2 separate regions of the Homo sapiens genome follow, and region 1 is linked to region 2. Evidence: promoter capture Hi-C in 16 types of primary human blood cells and fetal thymus (Javierre and others, 2016). All regions are on one chromosome and are shown on one strand. The core of a region is centred on a gene start or on the middle of the fragment in contact, and the rest is flanking DNA. Distances in the headings are between cores, read along the strand shown. Region 1 overlaps DCAF11 (DDB1 and CUL4 associated factor 11). Region 2 holds the start of CHD8 (chromodomain helicase DNA binding protein 8).

Region 1 (4,174 bases), core at 163-2,662, 2.7 Mb after region 2:
TTTAGAGGATGGTGGAATGGTTGAAAGACGGGATTGCACTCACAGCCAAAAGGGAAGAATGACTGTTCTGATATTCCAGCTCTGTTAGGATTCTGCTGATTGGGACACTCCTTATCCTGAGCACCCCTCACCCTCACTTTCTCTCTCCTTCCCTAGCTTCTTGCCCAATGATCTGGGCTTCACTGATAGCTACTCTCAGAAGGCTTTCTGTGGCATCTACAGCAAAGATGGTCAAATATTCATGTCTGCTTGCCAAGGTACCAGACCCTGGTCCTATAAACTATCTTTTCCTGGAACATGGGACATTCCCCCTGACTGAGGCTAGAAAGCCACAGACGGGGAGCTCAGACCTGGCTTAAGGATGCTTAGCCAGACCATGTTTCCCATGATAAAGGGAAGACTCCACAGGTACACTGAGTGGGAGATGTCTAATCTAGAAAAGTTACAAGGAAACTGTCCCATAATTCTGCCTGATCTTTACTTACACAGACCAGACAATCCGACTCTATGACTGCCGATATGGCCGTTTCCGTAAATTCAAGAGCATCAAGGCCCGCGACGTAGGCTGGAGCGTCTTGGATGTGGCCTTCACCCCTGATGGGAACCACTTCCTCTACTCTAGCTGGTCTGATTACAGTGAGTATGCACCAGGCTTCCACTGACTCTCCAGCCTGGGACCTGAGGTTTCCATGTGCCTGTCCCCTCTGAGCCAGGATCCCTCACTTTGTCCTGGGAAAATCACTCCCAAAGTGCTCCAGTACCCTTGTCCCCTGTTTGATCTCTTCCCTAGCTTCACTTCCACTCTTCTTCCCCCATCCCTGAAAGATTCTTGTTTTTCTTGCTTCTCTTAGTTCATATCTGCAATATCTATGGTGAGGGAGATACACACACTGCCCTGGATCTCAGGTACTGGCTTCCCTTTCTGGTCAGACTCATCAGAAACTTCTCAAGGGAAGCTCTTTGGGAGCAAACCTCTTGAGTTGGAAGTTCTGTTTAGGGGAAAAAGTATACTGGTGGGTCTGTGTGCATTCCTGGGAGGGAAGCACCATCTTGTCAGCCAGAGGACTGGGTAAAATAGATGGTTGCAGGATGATTTCTGGGTTCTCACTGAGCATCTGCATTATGGTGCATGTTAGCCAGACTTCTTTTTTCCCCTGGGGATGTGCCTTACAACCGTTGTCAGATTTTATGTAGATTAACAAAAGCTGAAGGAAGTCCACTTAACCCAGCTCCTTCTTGCTTTTAGGCCAGATGAGCGTCGCTTTGCTGTCTTCTCCATTGCTGTCTCCTCAGATGGACGAGAAGTACTAGGAGGGTAAGTGCTTGTGGGGTATGTTTCCCTCAATAACAAGATGGGGGTTCTGCCAGAGATGAGTTCTGCTGTTACACAGATGGCACTGGCAGCTGCAGAGAACAACCAGACCTTCTCCCAAGGTCAGGATTTACAAGTTGCTTCACCCCTTGCTCTCCATTTCCCCAGCACGAGATTGGAGGTGTCAAGCCTCCTTGAAACACAGCTAACTCTTCCCCCACTTCCTGTATAAAAAGAGCAAAGGGCTTGACCCAGAGCAGGATTTCTCAGTGGAACTCTCTAGAGCATATACCACGTTGGTCCTCTCGATCATGGCTCCAGGACCCTCCTTTATCCCTTCCCTTTCAGGGCCAATGATGGCTGCCTGTATGTCTTTGACCGAGAACAGAACCGGCGCACCCTTCAGGTATGGCTCCTGAGATAGAGCCTCTGCCTCCTGGTTTTTGGCTTTTTATAAGACCTAGAAAGAGGTCTTATATCCTGGCCTCCTTTTCGCCTAGATTGAGTCCCATGAGGATGATGTGAATGCAGTGGCCTTTGCTGATATAAGCTCCCAAATCCTGTTCTCTGGGGGAGATGATGCCATCTGCAAAGTGTGGGATCGACGCACCATGCGGGAGGATGACCCCAAGCCTGTGGGTGCACTGGCTGGACACCAGGATGGCATCACCTTCATTGACAGCAAGGTGGGCCAGAAGTCAGGACTGTACAGCCAGGCCGCTAAGGTTCTAGTTGCCCAGGAGGGCATGAAAGCGGACTGGTGTGGGAATTTGACAAGCTCCTTATTAACCAAGGTTTGTAAGAGTTGGAGTTTAGGGAAGGGGCTCAAGCCAGGGAACATGAATTCCATCTGTACTCACCAGTCCTCAAGGAGCAGGGCAGGGCTTTCCGTACAAGAAAAATGGAAGACCGGTCAGGTACAGCGGCTCACACCTGTAATCCTAGCACTTTGGGAGGCTGAGGTGGGAGGATCACTTGAGCTCAGGCGTTCCAGACCAGCCTGTGAAACCTAGCGAGACCTCATCTCTATTTATTTAAAAAAAAAAACAAAAAAAAAAAACTAAGGCCAGATGCCGTGGCTCATGCCTGTAATCCCAGCACTTTGGGAGGCCGAGGCGGGCAGATCACGAGGTCAGGAGATCGAGACCATCCTGGCTAACATGGTGAAACCCCGTCTCTACTAAACATACAAAAAAATTAGCTGGGTGTGGTGGCAGTCGCCTGTAGTCCCATCTACTCAAGAGGCTGAGGCAGGAGAATGGCGTGAACCCGGGAGGCGGAGCTTGCAGTGAGCCGAGATCACCCCACTACACTCCAGCCTGGGTGACAGAGCAAGACTCCATCTCAAAAAAAAATTAGTTAATTAAAAATTAAAAAAAGAAAAATGGAAGACAATCTGATTAAGGCTAGAATAGGAAAGCCGGCCAGTAGCCTGGGCAAGGAAAGGAAAACCTAGCCAGGTGGTAGGATCTGAGGCAGAACGCTGGAAATGAGTTCACCTGGATGAAGAGAGGCAAGTAAAGCCAGAGGCCAGAGTTCTTCTGCTCAACTAGAGAACGGGAACTAGACTGACAGGCGCCGACATTTGCAAGCTCTGATGCTTCACTATCCACCTTTGGATTCATAGGGTGATGCCCGGTATCTGATCTCCAACTCTAAAGACCAGACCATCAAACTCTGGGATATCCGACGCTTTTCCAGCCGGGAAGGCATGGAAGCTTCACGCCAGGCTGCCACACAGCAAAACTGGGACTATCGGTGGCAGCAAGTGCCCAAAAAAGGTGAGACTGGAAGTACAGGCACAGTGGATTTGTCTGTAGCCTGGGAGCCCTGGAGGACCTCCCCCTCAGCCCTCTTTGCCAGGCATTAACTCTTTATTTGCTAAATCATGGATGGAATGGCCAGAGGTTCCTAGGATTGGGGCCTGGGTGGGGGTCACTCAGAATCAACCAATATAAAAGTATGTGAGTGTAATGATTAACCGGCAGGGCCATATTGGAGACTGTCCACTGACTATTAGGTGGAGAAAGAGCCACCACTTGAAGATTGGAAAGGCATTTGTCTCTGGGCATCGAACCTTGCTCAGGACTGGTGGTACGAAACAATCCCAAAGCAGATTTCCTAACCTAGGGTTTACTCTGCATCCCTACCCAGCCTGGCGGAAGCTGAAGCTCCCAGGGGACAGCTCCTTGATGACCTACCGGGGCCACGGAGTGCTGCACACCCTCATCCGCTGCCGGTTCTCCCCCATTCATAGCACTGGCCAGCAGTTCATCTACAGTGGCTGCTCCACTGGCAAAGTGGTTGGTAAGGATTGTGTCAGAACAGGGGGCCTCAGGAAGGGCAGGAATGACTCCTTGCCATTCCACCTATAACGACTAGTGACCACCTTAAAAAGCCCAGTGACAGCTACAGGTAAAATCAAACTTAGCTTGGAGGCTTAAACAGAGAAATAGAAACCATTCTATTTTTCAGTGTTTTAAATTAAGAAAAGGAACATAGAATTCTAGACAGTAAATATAATAGATTGCCAAAAATATAGTTGGTTCTGTTTTTCAGCCAGTCAAGAAAGAGGTTGCAGATGAAAGGTAGGAGGGAACAGAGACAAAATGACACAGGAAGATGGTAGCAAGTAGTTAAGGGACATGCAGTCGCTAAAGCAGAAAAGCATAGAAAGAAATAAGCTGGCTGCAGTGGCTCATGCCTGTAACCCCAGGGCTTTGGGAGGCCAATGAGGGCAGATCACTTGAGCCCAGGAGTTTGAGACCAGCCAGGGCAACATGGAGAAACCTTGTCTCTACAAAAAATGGCTGGACATGGTGGCACAGGCCTGTAGTCCCAGCTACTTGGGAGGCTAGGGTG
Region 2 (4,572 bases), core at 1,188-3,687:
AAGTATTAGGCTCAATGTAAGCTCAGAAGATAGCTTAACTCTTCCAGAGCTGTAGACAAACAGTTCACTAAAGCATTTAGCATTCATCTGAATGTTACAGTCCTTTCACATATGAGAATATCAAATCTTATTTCTTCAGTAAGCAAACACAGTTTTGACACCCACAACTTAATCTTAAGTGGTAATTTTGCTTAGAAAAGTGGCTCATGCCTGTAATCCCAGCACTTCGGGAGGCCGAGGCGGGAGGATCACGAGGTCAGAAGTTCAAGACCAGCCTAGCCAATATGGTGAAACCCCGTCTCTACTAAAAATAAAAAAAAAAATTAGCCAAGCATGGTGGCGGGCGCCTGTAATCCCAGCTACTCGGAAGGCTCAGGCAGGAGAATTACTTGAACCTGGGAGGCGGAGGTTGCAGTGAGCCGAGATCCTGCCACTGCACTCCAGCCTGGGTGACAGAGCAAGACTCCGTCTCAAAAAAAAAGAAAAGAAAAGAAAAGAAAAGAAAAGAAAAGAAAAGAAAAGAAAAGAAAAGAAAACTGACAAAACCAAAAGAGCAGATGCACAGGACAGATCAAACATGGAGAATACAAAAACTGTTCAAGTACTCATACACTGTTCCATTATATCCCTTATCCCAATCCATTACTCCTTTGCTATCCTCTGGCTGTGTCGCCCAGGCCGGAATGCAGGGGCACGATCTTGGCTCACTGCAATCTCCACCTCCAGGGTTCAAGCGATTTTCATGCCTTGGCCTCCCATGTAGCTGGGACTACAGGCACGCGTCACCATGCCCGGCTAATTTTTTTTTGTATTTTTTGTACTTTTAGAGACGGGGTTTCACCATGTTGGTCAGGCTGGTCTCGAACTCCTGACTTCAAGTGATCCGTCCGCCTCCACCTCCCAAAGTGCTGAGATTACAAGCGTGAGCCACTATTTCAGTTTTAAACTTTCTCCTAAGCCTGTCTCTTCAAACTTGCCTACTCTCTCTTTGGCCAATATCTTTCACTTGCCTTCAGATCCACTGACACGCCTCTCTTGCAGCAGAAGGTCTTCTTACATGGAAAATGTTTTTCTTATCATAACTCTTTTTTTAAGGGTTGGGATAATTCCAAAGTACTTGAAATAAGTTTCTCATATCTTGCTCTATGAGGTTGACTAGAATTTGTTCTGAAACCTATTGGATGACCAATACAAAAGAAATTCCTAAGCAGAAGACACGATCTAATTAACTAACACAGGACACGATTCAAATCACAAACTCACTTTCGATATGTAATGTGCCCCACACCAGATGACTTCAGCATATGCTAACCTAGGCTGAGAATCCTTGACTGAGTCGACAAACTCAGAAAAGCATGGAGATGAAACGATCTGTAGACGCCGCTGTGATGGTAGGATGCAGCAGACACTGATAAGGCAGCTCCCCTGGCTTGTGTTTGGGGCGCTCCGCTGTTTATTCTTTAATAGAAAAAGACAGAGTTCTAAATCTTTGACTTCTGGCTCACTTTGCTTAGCCATACGAAAGAGATGGGTCCACTATATACCTTTTCTGTGAAGACCCTAACCGCTTCAAGACTGTCCCTTAAAAAGCAAGAGGCTGCTGCATTTATACAGCTGCTGCAGGGAAATTCCCTGCGACACTAGAGACAGGTAAATAAACTGCATTCGTTCCAAAGCAGGGGGAAGGGTCTTCTATCAGTGACGAGTTTACATAATGCAACGGAAAACCAGTGAGCTCTGCAGACCTGTCAAGGAGGATGCAAGGCTTGAGCTCCTCTCTTCCCACCATCTCTAAACATTCTCCAACAGCCTGCTCTTCACTGCCAGGAGACCCACAGAACTTACACCTGAGAATGAGTAACAATCTGCTTACGCTTACCCCATGCTTTCCTACCCACCTTTATTATTAAAATACAGAAGAAAAAAAAATAAAAAGAAGTAGAAAACCCTAACCACCTATTTCTGAATCCAAAGTATGGAGTAACCAAACGGGGCCGAGGAGTTTTCCCTTCTCTGAAGAGAGGAGAACAAGGCGCCGCCTCCAATCTACACTACGCCCAGTAATGCAATGACAAGCCCTGAAAACTCCACAGCGTCCCAAGCAGTCCCTCGCGGCTCGGCCCGGCTCGGACCCCGCGGCCCGGCAGCCACCCTCTCCCCCGGCCTCTCACAAAGGAGACTGGTTCAGTCCGGAGCATCACCCCGCACCTGATCCCTCACAACTGGGGGGCGAGCAGGGGGTGGAAGAGAGAGGAGAAGGAGTTACTTAAATCAAATCTCTGAGAGCCTCAGCTTTTGCTGACTCCTGGCCCAGCACTGAGGAGCGGGTGCGAGCGGGAAGCCTACCTGTGCAAGTCCTGGTACTTCCTTTCCAGGCAGCGTTTCAACTCACCCTCTCCGAGAACAAGGCGCCTTCCGGCGGAGCATGGCCAGCCCTCGCCTCAATCTAGCTTGCTAGTAGTCCATTCTCCCTAGGCTCCGCCCCCCTGCGCTCCCATCCGCCAATGGCAGCACCGAAGCCCGGCCTCTTCCAGCGAGCTAGTGTGAGCGCCATCCAGGAAGTCTCTTGAGGGTGGAAGGTCCTAGGAGGATGAGAAGGGTACGTAGGCGACCACAAATATGCCTGATTGAAAATAAAATCTGGCGGCGGCTCGCCTCTGACGACTCAGTTCACAGGCGGCCAGGCCCCTCGGCATCTTTTTTTGACCCCCGCCATTGGGGGCGCTGTGAACTAAAACAACACTTAGTTACCTACTTCTGGGAAGCCATCTTGGCTCGGACTCCGGGACTGGGTGAGAGTGCTTAAAGAATGTGAAGACCCTGTCGGTGTTCTGTCCGACTATCTAGGTCCAGCCCGAACATACTCTGCTGTATACACTTAGGAGGCCCCTCAGTCACGACGTGAAACCCTGGAGTAATGCCGTATGTGGTTACGGGCAACAACCACCACCACCCTCTCACTTAACTGTAGGAGTAAAGCAATTTTAACAAATCAAATAAGCAAAAATTAATTCTTCTAATGAGAGTGAAAGTTGCACTTTCCTAGGGTAATCCTTTATGGACACCTCACTCAAAATATCAGGACATGTATCTATTATAGGTGCTACTAAGCTTTAGGATTCACTGCAAATTTTCCAGTAGGGGCACTGTGAATCAGTTGGAAATCAAGAACAGGACTTAAGGAGGAATTCCTTTTTTTTTTTAAAGGCCTAATTTTTTTTTTTTTTTTTGAGATGGAGTCTCGCTCGGTCACCCAGGCTGGAGTGCAGTGGGGCGATCTCGGCTCACTGCAACCTCTGCCTCCCGGGTTCAAGCAATTCTCCTGTCTCAGCTTCCTGAGTAGCTGAGACTACAGGCTCCCGCCACCACGCCCAGCTAATTTTTGTATTTTTAGTAGAGACGGGGTTTCGCCATGTTGGTCAGGCTGGTTTCGAACTCCAGACCTCAAGTGATCCGCCCACCTCGGCCTCCCAAAGTGCTGGGATTACAGACATGAGCCACCATTCCTGGCCAAGAAATCTTTTTTAAAGTTGTGAGTGAGGGAATCCTTCCAGATTATTAAAGGAATTTCTCAAGGAGTAACATAATTGCATGGTCTTACATGATAGGAGCTCAGAGACATCAAGAAGTCATATGAGTGATAAGACTCGGCCTTAAGCTGGGCGCAGTGGCTCACGCCTGTAATCCCAGCACTTTGGGAGGCTGAGGCGGGTGGATCGCCTGAGGTCAGGAGTTCGAGAGCAGCCTGGCCAACATAGTGAAACCCCGTCTCTAGTAAAGATACAAAAAAAAATTAGCCGGGCGTGGTGGCAGACACCCATAATCCCAGCTACTCGGGAGGCTGAGGCAGGAGAATCGCTTGAACCCAGGAGGCGGAGGTTGTGGTGAGCCAAGATCTCACCACTGCACTCCAGCCTGGGCAACAAGAGCGAAATTCCATCTCAAAAAAAAAAAAAAAAAAAAAAAAAAAAAAAAAAAGACTTGGCCAAATACATTTCCCTGTGTATCAAAATCTGTCAGCCAAGACAGGCGCGGTAGCTCACGCCTGTAATCCCAGCACTTTGGGAGGCCGAGGCGGGTGGATCACCTAAGGTCCGGAGTTCAAGACCAGCCTGACCAACATGGAGAAACCCCGTCTCTACTAAAAATACAAAAGTAGCTGGGTGTGGTGGTGCATGCCTGTAACCCCAGCTACTCAGGAGGCTGAGGCAGGAAAATCACTTGAACTCGGGAGGCGGAGGTTGTGGTGAGCCTAGATCATGCCATTGCACTCCAGCCTGGGCAACAAGCGGGAAACTCTGTCTCAAAAAAAAAAAAAAAAAAAATCTGTCAACCAAATTCTCTCCTGGCTACTGCTGCCATTATATCAATTTGATGTTAGTATTAAGATTTATCAGAACAATGTGTTTGTCTGTAAATGCATATACAGATATAACCTTAATTATTAATAGTTTCTAGGATGAGAGCCTATTATCCATCTGGTACAGAATAGACCTGTCATCAAAGGAGCTATAGATATTATGGAAATGGGAACAGGTGTGCCTGAACCAATTTCTGGTACCTACACTGATC

Evidence for each region. The method cuts DNA at HindIII sites, captures the fragments that hold promoters and counts their contacts. A CHiCAGO score of 5 or more calls a contact.
Region 1: a fragment that was not itself captured here is called in contact with the fragment with the promoter of CHD8 in region 2 in 1 of 17 cell types (total CD4 T cells); the score reaches 5.2 in total CD4 T cells.

The regions. Positions count from the first base shown.
Region 1 is chr14:24,117,899-24,122,072 of GRCh38, forward strand. DCAF11 (DDB1 and CUL4 associated factor 11) reads left to right here. Exons shown (of 15, transcript NM_025230.5): 6 at 157-257; 7 at 490-636; 8 at 852-906; 9 at 1,247-1,315; 10 at 1,661-1,718; 11 at 1,813-1,998; 12 at 2,940-3,093; 13 at 3,467-3,619. Among named protein-coding and RNA genes, the nearest start is that of NRL, 5.0 kb to the left of the region's middle. The HindIII fragment of the contact is 3,232 bases long and covers 1-3,028 here.
Region 2 is chr14:21,453,686-21,458,257 of GRCh38, forward strand. It overlaps CHD8 (chromodomain helicase DNA binding protein 8), which reads right to left and starts at 2,438. Exons shown (of 38, transcript NM_001170629.2): 1 at 2,347-2,438. It overlaps LOC124903283 (a long non-coding RNA gene), which reads left to right and starts at 2,712. Exons shown (of 2, transcript XR_007064064.1): 1 at 2,712-2,792. RefSeq lists enhancers at 2,181-2,870, 2,735-3,286, 2,901-2,950, 2,961-3,010, 3,287-3,838. The HindIII fragment of the contact is 18,756 bases long and covers 1-3,109 here.